Regions from separate parts of the Homo sapiens genome. Here region 1 is linked to region 2. Evidence: promoter capture Hi-C in 16 types of primary human blood cells and fetal thymus (Javierre and others, 2016). All regions are on one chromosome and are shown on one strand. The core of a region is centred on a gene start or on the middle of the fragment in contact, and the rest is flanking DNA. Distances in the headings are between cores, read along the strand shown. Region 1 holds the start of ZBTB16 (zinc finger and BTB domain containing 16). Region 2 holds the start of TTC12 (tetratricopeptide repeat domain 12).

Region 1 (4,783 bases), core at 402-2,901, 750 kb before region 2:
AACAGCCAAAAGAATGGAAGCTTGGCGCCCTGAAACAAGCCTTTTGGGTCCTGAGGGAAATCTGGGCGCCCACGGGCAGCCGTCTCCCCCACCCGCCGCTCGGCGCCCGCGATCCGGCTGGCGCTGGCTGCAGCGTCCAGCCAGGCGGCGCGGGGAAGAGCCGGCGATAACCCGCCCGAGCTCCGGGGATCGACCGCGCTCTCACACCCCCCCAGTTCCCAGCGACCCCCACCGAGACTTGGAGACGACTTCAGCAAACTTGGGGAAGCAACTTTTCCCGAGGAGCTAGACTCCTGAAAGAAGGAGAGCTGAGCTAGGGACGAGGGAAAGCGAAAGAGACGGGGAGGAACGGCGACAGTCCGGGCGGGCTGGACTCCGCGGCGAGAGCGGCAGGGGAGGCGGACCCGCCCCGCGGCGAAGGGGAAGCACAAAAGCCCCGCAGCGAGTTGTGGGAGGAAAGGCGAGAAGGGGTCTGCCCGCCCTCCCTCTCCGACCCAGGGCCGTGACCCCCTGGGAGCGACCGGCTGGGTCCCAGGCCTCTGGCCAGCGGCGCCAGCGGCCAGCGCGCCCGGCCCAAGCACGGTGCGAGCGTCTCGGGGAGGCGGCGAGCGAGTCGGTGCGGAGCGCTCCGTGCGTCCGGGTGGTTCCGCGGGCCGGCGGGACCGTGCGCATTTCAAGCGCGTGCGGGAGTGTGCGAGGCGCTGTGCGAGCTAGCGGCGGGCGCGCCAGGGTGGGAAAGGCATCCCGAACGCATCAGGTGCAGAGACCGGCACCCACCGAGAGCGGCCGGGAGCGCACGGCGAGCTCCGGTGTCACCGCCGGTCCCGCCGAGAGCCGAGGAGGGCCCGCAGCGCTGCAGACCCTCTGGAGCTTCCCTCCCTCCCCTGCAAAAGGGGGGTGGGGATCAAGTCCAATCAAGAAAAAGCCCACCACGTTTTCTCAAAGAGAAACAAAACGTAAGCAGTCCCAGTCCTGCTCCCCTCCGCCCCCAGATCTACTCGTCAGCTCCTCCGATTCTAGCTTCCCAGCCGGCCGGCGAATAAACACACAAATAAATAAACCACAACCTTATCTTGCGCCCGCGCACCGGTCCGCATACATAAGAGCACCCACGGGCTCTGTTGCTCCGCCAGCCCCTGGCGGTACAAAGCCTCCGGATCCCCGACCCCTCTGCTCACGCCCTCAGCCCCCGCACACCGCTACGCCCCCCACCTCTCACCCCGACCGTGCCCTGAAGAGGAAGGGCTGGGGAGGCAGCTGCGCCCAGGCTGACAGCCGGGGCTCCCCCTTCTAGCCGACCCCCAACCGGTGGCGGCGACGGCTGCAGCGGCAGGAAGGGAACACGCCAAATAAAAAAGGCACAAGCCCAGCGGCCGAGTGGCCGAAGCGAGCGCGCGCCCCCCAGACCTCTCCAGCCCCGGGAAGCCCCGGCGCGCGGCGCTCGCTGGGCGGTGCGCCTCTTCCCGGCCCCTCACTCACCGCAGCCGAGCCGGGCACTGTGGGGTGGGTGTGCGTGCCTGTCGGGGGGTGTGTGCCTGTGTCGGGGAGGGGTGTTGCTGGGGAACTGTTGCTCTCCGTATCACGGCGGCAGCGACAGCATCGCCCGGCAGTTCGCAGTACCCGCTCTCATCGCCCTCAACTCCTCTCTGCTGCGAGGTTAGCAAATCACCACCGGCTGCTGCGCCTCCGCCGCGTCCCACGTCAACGCCGAGCCCCCTCCCCTGCAAGGCCCCGGCGCCTCTCCATCTTTAGTGCTGGCGGCCGAGCCCGGCTCCCTGCCCACAGCTGCCCCCCTTCCCTCCCCCCTCCCGCGCCGTCCCCGGGCTCAGCCCGCCCACCACCCCGCACTGGCCGAGCCCGCGCGCGCTCCCCGCCCCACCCCTCCTTTCCCCTCCCCTCCCTTCCCCTCCCTTCCCCGCGCTCCGCGCTCCGGGCTTCGCCTGACATCTAGCTGCTGCTGGGGCGCCGGCGGCCGCCTCTCACCGGCCGAGCGGAGAGGAAGGAAGGAGCCAGAGGACAGGAGTGCATGGGGACTCAGAATCCTTAATAGGGGAACTGAGGGTGAAGGGCGCGCAGCAGCCCCCACCTACTCCCAAGATTTTAATTTGCACTGGATACGGGTTTTGTCCCCCCCTCCCCGCACCCCGGTGCTCAAGCACGCAGTTTTGTCTCCTCTTCCAATGTTTGCCCCAATTCAGTGCGTGTCATCTCGCCTTTAACTTTTTTCTCATGGCTCGGGGCTGCAGTCCCCCTGACATCTGTTTTAAAAGGCCGCTTTCCTAGCCCAAACCCGGCCCTCTCATCCTCCTGGTTACTGCGCGCCTCCCGGCTTGAGCATCCGGATTTCAATAAGTCTCCCGAGGCAGAGTTCGCGGGCGCTAGTGAACCAGGTGCCAGAAGGTCCGCGGGGATCTATTGTCGAAGCGAGACACCCGTTTTTAGCTGTCGCGATTGCTGGAGGCCAAGGTCGAGTCCTGGGAGAAACTTTTCTCTCTCCCAAACCTTGGACAGCCTCTCGGCTCTGCCCTCATCCTACCCCCCCGCCCCCCAGCAATCTGGGTGGAAACAGTTCCCGAGAACTGCGCCCAGCTCAGTGCACAGTCTTCAGGGGGCAGGGGGAAGCTTGGACAACCTCTGGGCCCCTCAAAAGTGTGTCCTCCTTCAGCTGGCCGCCCTACTTCAGAGGGTAGAGCAGCCAAAGAAAATGTACTCTTCCTCTGACTGCAGAAAGCTGCCCTCTCCCCTTTTCCCTGGAGCTGAGCGAAGGTAGGGTGCCAGAGGCGGGAAGCGCTCTTCGGGCACGGGCTGTGGATTCTGACCGAAGCCCAGGAGGTTGGGGTGGGAGGTGGGGGTGGCCGAGAGCGCCATCCAGGGTTCTCAGGCCAGTCAGCCCTCGAGGTCACGCGGTTTTAGCAATGCGGAGCTTATGTCACCAAGGCCTGAGTCTGCATGTTCTGTCCGTGACTCACGGGTGGGCCAGAGGTTTTCCGCAGGACTCACCTAGAATCACACCTCCATGCGTGCCTCTGGCACTGCCCCAGACCCAGTCCCATGAACTGTAGGGTCATGGAAGGTGGCAGAAATCTGTATCTGTTCGCTGAAGGCCAGGCGGTAGAGTTTACACATCGGAACTGATCCGGGTTCACAAGAGCCGCTCATGAGGCAGCCCCAAAGACGGGTCATTCCATCCCAGCAAGAGCCACTCCTGACTCTTAAGAGCAGGGAAAGCTCAGCCCAGCAGGAGTCTGCGGAGAGAGCTGGGCAGGGGAACACACTTGAGTGAAGGAAGGGCTCCTCTGATAGCACGGGATACAACCACATCAAACCCAGGGCAAGCGGAGGGGAAGCCCAGTCCCTGGGTATTCATTTCATTAACAATAAAGAGCAATCCCATTTAGAGACTACCTGTTTTTCTAACTAAGGTCTATACACCCTGTTAGAGGAAAGGGATTTAAAGAAAGTTAGGAAAGAACTGGGCTGCAAGGAGAGCAAGAGTGGAGGGATGTAAGGAGAGGAGAAAAGACCCTCCTGGTGCCTCACCAGGGAAACAGAAGAAAGAATCACTACACTTGTTGAGCTTCTGCCTAGATAGTGCCTGCTGGAGGTTTCCGCTTTGCTGTCCACATCCACCTACCAGCCTCTCCTCAGTGCAGTAGCAGGAGAAGCACACAATTAACCCCTGATCCTAATCTCCTATTAATCCTCAAATCAGAGAAAGAGAGAATCTCTGGAAACAATGGGAGAGAAAGCACAATCCTCTATGGCCCTGGCCTCCCCACCCCCGTGCCATATTCACTCTATGTGAAAATCTCCCTTGCTTCATAAACGCTGCCCATTAAAAGCCCAGCCCTTGTTAGTAAGTGTTAAAGAGAGATTAATGCCTGAATTTAAGAGGTGGAGAAGGTAACAAAAAGGAAGAAGGCAGGCGAGGCTGTGGGCTGAATGCCAGCATTGGGCTCCAAGCATTTCCACTTAGCGCTGAAGGCTGGCTGCACAGCAGTTTGATAAGGTTTATTGGGCCCAGATAAAGCAGCAGCAGCTCCCCCACCAAAACTGGCACCATTTATAGCCAGAGCTATGTCCTTGGGTCCTGGGAAGGCTGATGAGAATCCTCAGTTCAGAGATTTCATATGGCAGCACCTAAAAACAAGCAGGATGGAAAATTACAAGAGAATACTCAATCTCTCTCGCGCGCACATGCCCGCTCTCTTTCTGTCTCTCTCATGTTCGTGTATTTAGAGTGATTTTTCTTTTACATTTTTTCTTGAAGCGTCTTTTAAGGGAAACCTGGGTATCAGTTCTAAAAATACAGGAGATCTCAATCTTAGGGGGAGATCATGCTAGAGACAGAGGAATAGATGAGCTGGCCTTTGCATGGAATTCCATTGCTAAATCTTACTCCCTCATCTCCCTCTTTACCCATGTACCTCCCACCACTGGCAGCCTTTCAGAGCTCAGTTAGTGGAACAGGAGGGTATAGCAGTTCTAAGAGATCATACAGGAAGGAGACAGCGAAAATAATAACTCATTCTGAGCACTGACTACGAAACTCAACACATTACCTATGTTGTTTTATTTAATCCACATAACAATCCTATTAATGCAGGTGCTATTATTTTCCCAATTTCTGTGGACATGAAAACTGAGGTTCAGAGAGATTAAGTGCCTTACTGCAGACTGTAGATCTATTAAACATCAGAGCTGAAACTTTAAATCAGACCATTCTGACTGCAAAGCTCATGCTCTTAACTTCTAGATTATGTAGCCTCTAGTGAAATAGATG
Region 2 (4,117 bases), core at 117-2,616:
GGCATGGAGATGAGAAGAGAGCAGATGACAGGTTGCCAAGGATAGAGAAATACACTAACACCTGACTTTGATCATGACAGGCTGGTCTAGTCAGAAGCTTAAATGTGGATGTGTGACAGGTAACAAACTTGGGGCAATTTGCATCTAAATGTCCATACTTGTTTAAAATCTGCCTTTGGCTTGTTTCTGAAGAGTGAAGAAAGGGTACAAATTGACTGAAGGGATTAGAACATAATGTTACCATGCTCACCAGCGTCTCTTCTGCTCTAGGTACCTCAGATATTATTTTACAGTTGTTTTTGTGCGAGAAGGCCCCGTGGTGTACCCAGCAGTACTCAGTGGTTCATCCACAGATCATAAAAATCATCGGGAAGATTGTTAAATATACAGCTTCCTCAGCCGTAGCCCGAGATTTCAAGTCAGTAAACCCGGGACATTGCCCAGACACGAATATAGATTTTAAACACTTTCCAGGTGATTCTCATTTATGGCCAGGTTTCATAGTAGTGTAACACGCTTCTAACACGTAATCTGCCACGAACAAACTACGAGTGATTTAATCGAGTCTCAGTGTCCTCATCTCCACCAGTTACAAGCTGTGTGATTCTGGCTAAATTCACAACCTCTCCGAGCCTCAGAGTCCTCACCCATACTATGGGAACAGTAAGAGAGAAACTACGAGGACTATTCTGGGGACTGATGTAAAGCACCAGGCACGCGACGAGTCCTCACCGTGAAGCACCCTTACCTATATAAAACAGGGGGTGGGGTTGCGGCTTAACTGAATAATCGCTAGGGTTTCTTCCAGGTCAAATCTTTTCAACTCCCACGGAACAGAGGCCTAGTCCAGTGAATTAATCTGCCCAACGGTATGAAGGTTAGAAGGCAGGCGCGCGGGTGCATGGACAGGAGACAACCTCTGTCTCCCAGGGCATGGATCTCAGGGTCCTCACTGCCTGGCCAGTGCCCCCCTACGCTAGGGTGAGAGGGCCAGAGCCAGGTGATGGCGAAGCGGCGCCGCGCTCAGTGCTTCACTCGGTAGGGCTGCGGCAGCGGGGACCTGTGCCCGAGCCCCGCGCGGAGCCTGCCCCAGACGCGCGCTGCCCGCCGGGCGCAAAGAGGCCAGGCCGCACGCACTGTTGCCCAGCAACCGCTCCCAGGCGTCCGCAAGTCCCGGGCCCTCCATGCAGGTCCCAGACCGCAGCCGTCCCAGACCGCAGCCAAGACCTTCCCATGCTCTGGGGCCCAAAGCAGCGTCCTCTGCTCGGCTCTGAAGGCCAGTGCAGGACCAGCTCCCAGGGGGGATTCCGGGGTACCCCGCGGCACCGACCTGATTCGCCCAGCTTTGGACAGGAAATGGCGCAGTGACCTGCCTGGGCTGGGGCGGGGCCAGGAGCCAGGGGCCCGGGGCGGGACCAAGGGCGGGGCCAGGAGCCAGGGCCCGGGGCGGGACCAAGGACGGGGTCAAAAGCCAGGAGGCGGGACAGGGGGCGGGCATGGACACGCGATCAGATTCGCTACCGCAGAGCTCTAGCTCCGGAGCGCGCCAAGTTGAAGGCCAAAGTCGAGGTTGGGATGCCCGATGCCTGGCGCGGGGAGACGGAGGAAGCAAAGTGCTGGTAACTAAAGCAGCGCCTGCTGCTCGCCTTTTTTCTACTGAAGAAGGGTTGTCTCACTCCCGTTAGCTTAATATCCTTGCCCAAAATGTAAAGTCTCCAGTGTACTTGTGAATCCGGTTTTGTTCATTGATAAATGTGTGAGTTAGAAGACTCACACATTTATCCTTAGGAAAGTTATTTGAGTAACCTTTTTAATCCTCAGTTTTCTCACCTGTGAAATGGAGAAATGGCACTTTCTCATAAGGTTTATGGTTAAAGTGCTGTAACCGCCCAATAGGTTCACCTTGCTCACTGCCTAAACAGAGTCGATTTATCAAGACAGGGGAATTGCAATAGAGAAAGAGTAATTCACACAAAGCTGGCTGTGAGGGAGACCGGAGTTTTATTATTACTCAAATCAGTCTCCCTAGCTTTCAGGGATCAGAGTTTTTAAGGATAATTTGGTGGGTAGGGGTCAGTGAGTCGGGAGTGCTGATTGGTAGGCTAGGAGATGAACTCACAGGGAGTCAAAGCTGTCCTCTTGTGCTGAGTCAGTTGCCAGGTGGGGGTCATAAGACCAGATGAGCCAGTTTATTCATCTGGGTGGTGCCAGCTGATCCATCGAGTGCAGTGTCTGTGAAATATCTTAAGCACTGATCTTAGGTTTTACAATAGTTGATGTTATCCCCAGGAGCAATTTGAGGTTTAGAATCTTGCAGCCTCTAGCTGCATGACTCCTAAACCATAATTTCTAATTTTGTGGCTAATTTGTTAGTCCTGAAAAGGCAGTCTAGTTCCTGGGCAAGAAGGGGGTTTGTTTGGGAAAGGGCTGGTATTGTCTTTGTTTCAAAGCTACACTATAAACTAAGTTCCCCCCAAAGTTAGTTTGGCCTATGCCTAGGAATGAACAAAGACAGCTTGGAGATGAGAAGCAAGATGGAGTCGGTTAGGTCAGATCCCTTTCACCATCTCAGTTATAATTTTGCAATGGTGGTTTCAGTGCCTGGTACCTAGTCAGTAGGAACAGGTGGCACGTGACATCCGGGGAATCATAGGGTTTAGAACAGAATGAGCTAATAGGCACATTCATTCATGCCCCAAATACATGCACACAGCCCTAAAGAAATTTCAGTCTGTTTTTCTAAACAAAATCTCAGAGTATTATGTGCAGGGTTACCAATGGAAAAAAAGCAGGTTTAGGGGAAACTTGAGCTTAAGTTCACGGTCAGAAACACCCGGAACTTCTTGGCAAATGAGTGCTTTATGGAAACCTGTTTGGCAGGGAACAAGGAGCCCCTAGAGATGGAATTCGCCAGAGGGGAGAGGGATCCAGGCATGGCCAGCTAGCTCTAGTGTTGATTCCAAGTACAGCCTGTTGACTCTCTTGTGGCCTAGGCCCCATAGGATGCATGCCTGTGTCCTGTAGAGAACAGAAGAGCTGTTTGGCTGAAGTCTCTATGATGCATTGGTACACATACCATCCTGCTTGGGTACCCCTCTAATGCAGTATAACACAAAGGGGCCACGGATGTTCTGCTCCTCTTGGCAGCTGAATGGGTACAGCATCAGCAGAGTGAGTCTTTTGGCTCATCAACTGCAGCAGGAGACCTGGGGATCCCAGCAGGACATGGTCACAGTGGCTGTCCCAAGGGAATGAGGTGCCTCAGGAGAAGTAGCAGACAGTGTAGGTGCCTGGCAGGAGCAAGGACGTTGATGAGCACAGGCTAGGCACACCATAGGGATCCTCAGAAAGATATAGGGTACTTCACAGTGACCTTCCAGCCTGTGGGAATTGATGGAGACAAGAACCAGTGATGTTTTGGTTATCACCATTAGTATCACCCCATTTTCCTCTTAGGCCTGTGAGGCCTTGAATACATGAAGGCTATATGCCTATGGTCCCCAACCTCAGGGTGTTTCTTATCACATTGAGGCCAATAGTTCCAAATCACTTACTTCCTATCCTACTACTCTTTTCACTAAACTCCTTTCCTAGGTTCCAGAGGTATCTGCCCACAACTGACTGTACCACCTAACCATTCACTCACACATTTGTTCAGCTAGTGTGAGTGGCCTGTAGTGTGCTAGATGCAGCGGAAGGCCCCTGGGGTGCACTTGACAAATAGTCATCACATGCTAAGTGGTTAAGAGCTGGGGCTCTGGAGCCATTTTGCTGGGTTCAAATCTCACATCTCCACCTATTAGCATTCATTAAAATGTCTTGAAGCACCTACTATGCACCTTCTATTGTGCTATGTACTGGGGATCATATTCCTCCTTTTTTATTACTAACACTACTGAAACCTTCCTTACAAACTTTATAAAATTAATCAGGGAAGCAGGGAAGGGGAGAAATAAAATAAGCCCAGCTTGCAGCACATTCAGCATGAACCATGAGGTCAGCTTGTTCTCTGGCCTGCTTCTTCATAATTATTTAGTGTCTGTTATCTCAGAATCACGTAGACCCAGTTACAATATTATAGTTCCCCTTAACTGCTCTATAGTTAACAACTTGAACA

Evidence for each region. Contacts are between HindIII fragments. The CHiCAGO score rates a contact against its expected background, and 5 or more counts as called.
Region 1: a contact is called between the fragment with the promoter of ZBTB16 here and the fragment with the promoter of TTC12 in region 2, in 2 of 17 cell types (total B cells and naive B cells). The highest score is 9.1, in total B cells.

Annotation. Positions count from the first base shown.
Region 1 is chr11:114,056,579-114,061,361 of GRCh38, reverse strand. ZBTB16 (zinc finger and BTB domain containing 16) reads right to left here and starts at 1,651. Exons shown (of 7, transcript NM_006006.6): 1 at 1,480-1,651. RefSeq lists a silencer at 1,801-2,095. The HindIII fragment of the contact is 2,602 bases long and covers 23-2,624 here.
Region 2 is chr11:113,311,832-113,315,948 of GRCh38, reverse strand. TTC12 (tetratricopeptide repeat domain 12) reads right to left here and starts at 1,366. Exons shown (of 22, transcript NM_017868.4): 1 at 1,331-1,366. It overlaps TTC12-DT (TTC12 divergent transcript), which reads left to right and starts at 1,493. Exons shown (of 5, transcript NR_199709.1): 1 at 1,493-1,619. RefSeq lists silencers at 996-1,095, 988-1,282, 1,306-1,555. The HindIII fragment of the contact is 13,389 bases long and covers 100-4,117 here.